Regions from separate parts of the Homo sapiens genome. Here region 1 is linked to region 2. The links are contacts of gene promoters, found by promoter capture Hi-C in blood cells and fetal thymus (Javierre and others, 2016). All regions are on one chromosome and are shown on one strand. Each heading gives the region's core, a stretch centred on a gene start or on the middle of the fragment in contact. The rest is flanking DNA. Distances are from core to core; before and after follow the strand shown.

Region 1 (4,456 bases), core at 1,307-3,806, 370 kb before region 2:
TTTTGGAAAAACAATATATTTTCCTTTGGGTATATACCCAGTAATAGGATTGCTGAGTTGAATGGTAGTTCTAAGTTTTTGAGAAATCTCCAAGCTGCTTTCCACAGTGGCTGAACTGATTTACATTCCCACCAACAATGTATAAGCGTTCCCTTTTCTCTGCATCCTCACCACCATGTGTTTTTGTTGTTGTTGTTGTTGTCGTTTCAAGTAACATTTATTGAGAACTCTTTGTGTCAAATGCTTTGTCTGCATTAACTCAATTAATCCTCATAAAAAACCTTATGAAGCCCCACTTCCCATTCAAGGAGACTAAGGCAGAGAGATCAAATAACTTGCACAAGGCCACACGAATAGTAAGTGGCAGATGCAAGAGCTAAATCCAGTAGTCTGAGTCTGAAGCTCACAAGTTCAACTTCTCTACAACCTGTCACCACTCTTCGTTCACTACCTGACCTTGATGGAGTCAGTGAACCTTTCTGCAAAGTGGAAGCAATTTTTAGAGTTGTCCTGAGCATTAGCAATCCTATGTCAAGTGCCTGGAGGGAACACAGTGGGCATCTCAACAAATGGTGGGTGCTCACCACTTGAAAGTGAGTTATGGGTTTAAGCAAGTTGAATCTGAGGTGAGGGCAGAACTTCCAGATGAAGTCAGAATTGCAAAGGCCATAAAGCCCAGGGTTTAAGCACTGAAGCCATGGAATTGGCCTGCCTGGGCTCCAATCCCTACTCTGCCGCTTCAATGCTGAATGACCTGACAAGTCAGTTTACCTGTCTGAGCCTGTTTGCTCATTTGTAAAATGGGGCTAAAAATACTACCTCCCTAGGTTTGTTTTGAGTATAGGGTAATATGTGGGCAGTGCTTAGGAACAGAGTTTGGGCATTGTCAGTGCTGAATTCATGTTGGTTTTTATAATGGTGTGTATAATGGATGTAATGATAAATTTATGGTGATGTAATATTACCATAAGGTAATATTTTCCTGTATTAAGATTCTTGAGGTCAGGCACAGTGGCTCACGCCTATAATCCTAGCACTTTGGGAGGCCGAGGTGGGTGGATCACCTGAGGTCAGGAGTTCAAGACCAGCCTGGCCAAAAAGGTGAAACCTCGTTTCTACTAAAAATACAAAAATTAGCTCGGCGTGGTGGTGCCCACCTGTAAGCCCAGCTACTTGGGAGGCTGAGGCAGAATTTCCTGAATCTGGAAGGCAGAGGTTGCAGTGAGCCGAGATCGTGCCATTGCACTCCAGCCTGGGTGACAGAGCAAGACTCCGTCTCAAAAAAAAAAAAAAAAAAATAAATAAATAAATAAATAAAGATTCTTGAATGTGTTAGCCATAAGGGGAAATCAAATCACAACAAAACCCTTTCTTCCCAGTGACTGCACAATCATTTTCTTCATTCCCAGCATACCACCATTGTTGTATATCCACCAGTGTGCCAGGGTCTGTGGATAAACCCTAAACATCCAGAGAAGGGGAGACAGGCCCCAGATTCCCACCCCAACACGCATCATGTGAGCAGCTGGAGGATGTTGCAGTTCAGCAAAATCCAAGGGTTGGCCACAGGATCTGCTAGGCAAAGCTGCTCTGGATGAGAAACTGGGAAGAATGTTCCCATTGGTTTGGGGGTTGTTAAGCCATCAGGAAAAGGTTTGGAATCTGTATTTTAAGAGAGCATGCTATGTGATTCCTTCCTCCAGCCCTGCCTTCATCTGTCTTTCACCTGTTCAGACCCTTGCCGTAGAGAATGGTCTCTTAAGAGTTTTTTACTCAGGAGGAGCAATGAGCTTGGCTTCAAGGAGTCCACTGTTTCGTGAAGGGCATTAACTCAGCTACTTGGTGAACTGGAACCTCCAGGCTTCCAAGGATGACATTTCCCTGGAAGAAAGTAGCCAGCAGCGTCCCCTTTGTGAAAGAGAGGAAGCCTGGGCTCCAGGGAAGGGGGCAACAGTCCAATGAGCCATAGCAGGGAATGGACCGAACTGTACATACAAGATGAGGAGGGGCCTCGAACAACAGGGAAGCCCCGTGGAGCACGCAGGGGAGCCTGGACGCGGGGAATCGCCTCCGTTTCTCACCCTGACAGCAGGGAGGGCTTCCCGGAGCTGACAGTGAGGCAGACATCCCGGATCCCTGTTATCACAGGTGCAGCCACGCAACTTTTGGGTTACCTTCCCGCCACGAAATGGAAATGATTTCCTGAGGGCCGGAAAGATCATTTGCATCGGGCCTCAGGTCTGGGGCTGGGAAAGCAGGCCCCGGCCGGAAAGGAAGACTGGAGGCCGCCGCCCCAGAGGCCGGACCCTCGCGTCCCGGCCGCATCCCCTCCCGGCTGGGTATGCGCTTCGGGCGCGGGGCTCCCTCGCGAGGCTGGACTGGGTGGAGCCCGAGAGCCCCTCCGGGGAGCTGGCTGCCGGGGAGGCACCGGGGCTGCGGGGCCGCGGGGCGGGCCGGGCCTGGAGCTCCGCGCTAGAGGCGGCCGCAGCGCACCGGGCGTGGGCGGGGCCGGCAGCGCAAGGGTGAATGTCGGCCCCGCCCCGACGGCGCTGACTCAGTTTCACCAGAAACCAGGGGGAGAAGGCGGCCGAGCCCCAGCTCTCCGAGCACCGGGTCGGAAGCCGCGACCCGAGCCGCGCAGGAAGCTGGGACCGGAACCTCGGCGGACCCGGCCCCACCCAACTCACCTGCGCAGGTAACCCGGGCCCCCGCGCGCAAGGCCGAGGCGCAGGCGGAGCGGGCTGGAGCATGTCCGGCCCTTTGTTCTGCGCTCGTGCGTGTGTCCGGGTACTTGAGCTCCCTAGCGGTCCGCCTGTCCGTCTGTCTGGCTGCCGGGTCCCTGGAGGGCGCGTGGGAGGGCCGGGCCCGTGCGCCCTCTTCGATCCTGGGGTGCTCCGGTCCCTCCTCCCCGCCACTTCCTCCCGGCCGGCCCGCCTCCTCCAAAGTCTCCCGGGCTGATCAGGTGTGTCTCCTCCTCTGTCCCCTCCCTTCTTCTCAGGTCACCAGCACCCTCGGAACCCAGAGGCCCGCGCTCTGAAGGTGACCCCCCTGGGGAGGAAGGCGATGGCCCCTGCGAGGACGATGGCCCGCGCCCGCCTCGCCCCGGCCGGCATCCCTGCCGTCGCCTTGTGGCTTCTGTGCACGCTCGGCCTCCAGGGCACCCAGGCCGGGCCACCGCCCGCGCCCCCTGGGCTGCCCGCGGGAGCCGACTGCCTGAACAGCTTTACCGCCGGGGTGCCTGGCTTCGTGCTGGACACCAACGCCTCGGTCAGCAACGGAGCTACCTTCCTGGAGTCCCCCACCGTGCGCCGGGGCTGGGACTGCGTGCGCGCCTGCTGCACCACCCAGAACTGCAACTTGGCGCTAGTGGAGCTGCAGCCCGACCGCGGGGAGGACGCCATCGCCGCCTGCTTCCTCATCAACTGCCTCTACGAGCAGAACTTCGTGTGCAAGTTCGCGCCCAGGGAGGGCTTCATCAACTACCTCACGAGGGAAGTGTACCGCTCCTACCGCCAGCTGCGGACCCAGGGCTTTGGAGGTGAGGAGGGTGCCAAGATGGATGGGTTTGGAGAGACTCAAAAAAGGGACTGGTTATGGGGTCCTAGGGGAGACGAACATCAGAGAGGAGTTAAGGAGAGTTCACTTTTTTTTTTCTTTTTCTTTCTTTTTTTTTGCGACGGAGTCTCGCTCTTGTCGCCCAGGCTGGAGTGCAATGGCGCAATCTCTGGTTGCTCACTGCAACCTCCGTCTTCCACGTTCAAGTGATTCTTCTGTCTCAGCCTCCGGAGTAGCTGGAACTACAGGCACCCGCTACCAGACCCGGCTAATTTTTTTTTTTTTTTTTTTTTTTTTTTTTTTGGTACAGACGGGGTTTCACTATGTTGGCCAGGCTGGTCTTGAACTTCTGAACTCAGGTGATCCACCCACCTTGGCCTCCCAAAGTGCTGGGATTATTTCTACCTGAAGCCCTCCTTAGAAGTAGGCAGTACAGCCGAATCAAGCCTGGTGATCAATGGGGTGACAGATGTCACAGCCAGATCGCCTTCACATCGGTAGTAGGCAGTACAAACAGTAAACAAATGAAAGGGGACATGAGTAGGGAGGGCAGGGCCCAGGCTCTGGCTCCTGAACTCAGGATGTTCAGAGGTGATGGGCTGGTGCTCACAGGGAGGCCTTTGGCTCTGGGCTGTGTGTACTGGAGGGGAGAGGAAGTCCCCAGGACTCCTGACCTCTGGCACTGATAGGCTGATTGAAGGAGTGAGCTGTCTGGATGGTCTGGTGACTAGAAAGGCACCTTGGCCAAGCACTGGTCTGGGCACACCGATGCCCTGTCAGGTGAGCCTGGCCATAGTCTCCTCCACTGGCTGGACTTGGGACTGCTTAGCATCTCTCTACCCCCTAGGAATGCATTGGCCTTTTGGTGGTCCAGGAAGACTGCCAGATCCGAGACTAGAAA
Region 2 (4,723 bases), core at 1,839-4,338:
TGGAGTGCAGATCATAGCTCACTGTGGCATGAACTCCTGGGCTCAAGCTATCCTCCTACTTTAGCTTCCTGCAGCTTCGACCTCCGGGGCTTAGCTGATCCTCTCATCTCAGCCTCCCGGGTAGCTGAAACTACAGACCTGTGCCACCATGCCCAGCTAATTTTTTGTATTTTTTGTAGGGGTGGGTTTGCCTTGTTGCCCAGGCTGGTCTGTAACTCCTGGGCTCAAGTGATCTGCCTGCCTTGGCCTCCAAAAGTGCTGGTATTACAAGACTGAGCCACCACGCCTGGCCACAAGTTCTTACCCTCATTTTTTTTTTTATTGTTGTCACGGACACTTTAAAGAATCTGTTGATACATAAATAATACTTACAACTCAATGATAAAAATAATTATTTCAACTCAATTAAAAAACAGCAAAAGGTTTGGGCAGGGTGGCTCATGCCTGTATTCCTAGCAGTGAAGGAGGCTGAGGAGGACAGATTGCTTGAGCCCAGGAGTTCGAGACCAGCCAGGGCAACATAGTGAGAAATTGTCTCTACACAAAATACAAAAATTAAGGCTGGGCGCAGTGGCTCACGCCTGTAATCCCAGTACTTTGGGAGGCCGAGGAAGACAGACTGCTTGAGTCCAGGAGTTCAAGACCAGCTTGGGGAACACAACAAGACCTCATTTCTTAAAAAAAAAAAAAAAAAAGAGCTGGGCATGGTGGTACACACCTATAGTCCAAGTTACTCAGGAGGCTGAGGTGGGAGGATTGCTAGAGATCCTAGGAGGTGGAGGTTGCAGTGAGCCAAGATCATGCCACTGCACTCCAGCCTGGGCTACTAAGCGAGACTCTGTCTCAAAAAATAAAAGGCAAAGGATCTAAATAGACATTTCTCCAAAGAAGTTATACAAACGGCTAGTAAGCTCATGGAAACATTCAACATCATTAGCCATCACAGAAATGCAAATCAAAACCACAATAAGATACCACTTCATACCCACTAGGATGGCTATACTCAAAATTACAGATAAGTGTTGGCAAGGATTTAAAGAAATTGGAACGGCTGGGCACAGTGGCTCACGCCTGTAGTCCCAGCACTTTGGGAGGCTGAGGCGGGCAGATCACGAGGTAAGGAGATCGAGAACACCCTGGCTAACACGGTGAAACCCCGTCTCTACTAAAAATGTAAAAAAAAAAAATAAGCCGGGCGTGGTGGCGGGCACCTGTAGTCCCAGCTACTCAGGAGGCTGAGGCAGGAGAATGGTGTGAACCCGGGAGGCAGAGCTTGCAGTGAGCCGAGATGGTGCCACTGCACTCCAGCCTGGGCGACAGAGCAAGACTCCGTCTCAAAAAAAAAGAAATTGGAACCCTCACAGACTGCTGGTAGAAATGTAAAATAGTGCAACAGCTTTGGAAAAAAGTCTGGCCGTTCCTCAAAAAAGTTAAACACAGAGTTACCATATGATCTAGCAATTTCACTCCTAGGTAACTATCTAAGAGAAATAAAATCATCCACACAAAAACTTGTCCATGAATGTTCATAGTAGCATTATTCACAATAACCACAAAGAAGAAACAACCCAAATGTCCATCAAATGGTGAATGGATAAATAAAATGTAGTATATCCATACAATAGAATATGATTTGGTGGCTGACTGTGGTGGCTTACACCTCTAATCCCAGCACTTTGGGAAGCCGAGGCAGGTGGATTGCTTGAGCCCAGTAGTTTGAGACCAGCTTAGGCAACATAACGAGACGTTGTCTCTACAAAAAATATAAAAGAATTAGCTAGGTGTTGTGGCACATGCCTGTAGTCCCACCTACTTGGGAGGCTAAGGTGGGAGGATTGCTTGAGCCCAGGAGGTCCAGGCTGCAGTGAACTCTGATTGTGCCACTGCACTCCAACCTGGGTGACAGAGCAAGACCCCGTCTCAAAAAAATTTTTTTTAATTTATAAGGAATATTATTTGGCAATAAAAATAAGTGAAATACTGATATAAGCTGTAATGTGGATGAACCTTGAAAACATTATGCTAAGTAAACAAAGCCTGTCAAAAAAACTACATATTTTATTATTTTATTTATTTACTTGTTTTTATTTTTATTTTTTTTGAGATAGAGTCTCACTCTGTCACCCAGGCTGGAGTGCAGTGGCACGATCTTGGCTCACTGCAACCTCTGCCTCCTGGGTTCAAGCAATTCTCCTGCCTCAGCCTCCTGAGTAGCTGGGATTACAGACACGCACCACCACACCCAGCTAATTTTTGTATTTTTAGTAGAGACGGTGTTCACCATGTTGGTCGGGCTGGTCTCAAACTCCTGACCTTGTGATTCACCCATCTCGGCCTCGCAAAGTGCTGGGATTACAGGCATGAGCCACCGTGTCCAGCCAGTTTTTGTTTTGTTTTGTTTTGTTTTGTTGTTTTTTGAGACAGAGTCTCACTCTTTCCCAGGCTGGAGTATAGTGGCATGATCTCGGCTCACTGTACCCTCCACCTCCTCCCACTCAGCCTCCCCAGTAACTGGGATTACAAGTGCCCACCACCACACCTGGCTAATTTTTGTATTTTTAGTAGAGATGGGGTTTTGCCATGTTGGTCAGGCTGTTTTAGTGGTTGCCAAGGGCTGAGGAGTGATTAGGAGTGATGGATAAGGGGTGTGGGGTTTCTTTCTGGTATACTGAAAATATTCTAAAATTTATTATGTTGCTTTACTTACAACTCTGTGACTACACTAAAAGAAAATGAGCTGTACATTTTAACTAAATAAATTGTATGGCATGTGGATTATATCTCAATAATGCTATTTTTTAATAAAAATCTTCTGTTCAGTTCAGACTTAAAAAACAACCTGTTGTTGACCATCCTGGCTAACACGGTGAAACCCCGTCTCTACTAAAAATACAAAAAATTAGCCGGGTGCAGTGGCAGGCGCCTGTAGTCCCAGCTACTCGGGAGGCTGAGGCAGGAGAATGGCGTGAACCCGGGAGGTGGAGCTTGCAGTGAGCCGAGATAGTGCCACTGCACTCCAGCCTGGGCGAAAGAGACTCCATCTCAAAAACAAAACAAAACAAAACAAAAACCTTTTGATAGCTAACTGTCCTTTTAAAAATGCATCCATGGGCCAGGGACAGTGGCTTACACCTGTAATCCCAGCACTTTGGGAGGCGGAGATAGGCAGATCACCTGAGGTCAGGAGTTTGAGACCAGCCTGGCCAACATGGCAAAACCCCATCTCTACTACTAAAAATACAAAAATTAGCTGGCGTGGTGGTGCATGCCTGTAATACCAGCTACTCAGGAGGCTGAGCCAGGAGAATCGCTTGAACCCAGGAGGCGGAGGTTGAGGTGAGCCAAGATCACCCCACCGAACTCCAGCCTGGGCCACAAGGCGAGACTCCATCTCAAAAAAAAAAAAAAATTCTGACTCTTCTCTGAAACTGCCAATGGCTTTAAGTCAAACTCAAAATCTTTACAATGTCTAGAAAGCCCTAAGTGAACTGCCTCCTGCCCCCTTCCATCTCCTACCATTCTTCTTCACTGTGGTCCTGTCACACTGACCTCCCTGCTGTTCCTCCACACAAGCCAGGAATATTTCAGCCTCAGGGCCTTTGCACTTGCTAATTCCACTTTTAAGTTCTTCACTTTTTTTTTTTTGAGATGGAGTCTCGCTCTGTCACCCAGGCTGGAGTGCAGTGGCACGATCTCGGCTCACTGCAAGCTCCGCCTCCCGAGTTCACACCATTCTCCTGACCCAGCCTGGTGAGTAGCTGGGACTACAGGCGCCTGCCAGCATGCCCGGCTATTTTTTTGTATTTTTAGTAGAGACGGGTTTTCACCGTGTTAGCCAGGATGGTCTCAATCTCCTGACCTCGTGATCCACCCGCCTCAGCCTCCCAAAGTGCTGGGATTACAGGCGTGAGCCACTGCACCCAGCCTTTAAGTTCTCCACTTTGATATCTACATGGCTCCCTTACTTACTCAGGTCTTTGTTCTAATGTCACCTCCCTAGAGATGTTTTCTCTGTCTATCCCACATAAAATAGGACCTCCTTGTCACTCTAGTCCCCATACCATGCTTTATTTTTATTCCCAGCACTTACTGCCATCTAAAATAAAAGCACTTGTTTATTGTCTTGCATTAGAATATAAGCTCCTTGAGGGCGGGAACTTTGTCTTGATTATGGTTTTACCCAAGAGCTCAGAACAGTGCCTGGCATATAGGCATATAGCAGCCACCAAATATGTTGTTGAATTAATAGGAAAAAAAATCAAAAATCTTATAATAAAGAAATTTACAGCCGAGCGTGGTGGCTCATGCCTGTAATCCCAGCACTTTGGGAGGCCGAGGCGGGTGGATCACGAGGTCAGGAGATCGAGACCATCCTGGCTAACACGGTGAAACACTGTCTTTACTAAAAATACAAAAAATTAGCCAGGCGTGGTGGCGGGCACCTGTAGTCCCAGCTACACGGGAGGCTGAGGCAGGAGAAGGGTGTGAACCTGGGAGGCGGAGCTTGCAGTGAGCCAAGATTGGTCCACTGCACTCCAACCTGGGCGATAGAGCAAGACTCCGTCTCAAAAAAAAAAAGAAAGAAAGAAATTTATGACACACAGACATGATACCTACATACAGGCAATACTAGTAATGATTGAGGACAATACTTACCGCAGCACCAAACTTCTGCTGGAATTGATTAATGACTGTGTATGTCACCTCCTCTTCCTCTACAAGA

What was found. Contacts are between HindIII fragments. The CHiCAGO score rates a contact against its expected background, and 5 or more counts as called.
Region 1: the fragment with the promoter of SPINT1 here is called in contact with a fragment that was not itself captured in region 2 in 3 of 17 cell types (total CD8 T cells, endothelial precursors and total CD4 T cells); the score reaches 6.2 in total CD8 T cells.

The regions. Positions count from the first base shown.
Region 1 is chr15:40,841,492-40,845,947 of GRCh38, forward strand. SPINT1 (serine peptidase inhibitor, Kunitz type 1) reads left to right here and starts at 2,557. Exons shown (of 11, transcript NM_003710.4): 1 at 2,557-2,695; 2 at 2,999-3,538. The coding sequence starts at 3,064. SPINT1-AS1 (SPINT1 antisense RNA 1) reads right to left here and starts at 3,033. Exons shown (of 2, transcript NR_146468.1): 1 at 2,688-3,033. RefSeq lists silencers at 1,995-2,177, 2,339-2,568, 2,649-2,708, 2,999-3,238 and an enhancer at 2,130-2,701. The HindIII fragment of the contact is 21,246 bases long and covers 1-4,456 here.
Region 2 is chr15:41,211,119-41,215,841 of GRCh38, forward strand. EXD1 (exonuclease 3'-5' domain containing 1) reads right to left here. Exons shown (of 12, transcript NM_001286441.2): 6 at 4,657-4,715. Among named protein-coding and RNA genes, the nearest start is that of EXD1, 17 kb to the right of the region's middle. The HindIII fragment of the contact is 6,313 bases long and covers 1-4,723 here.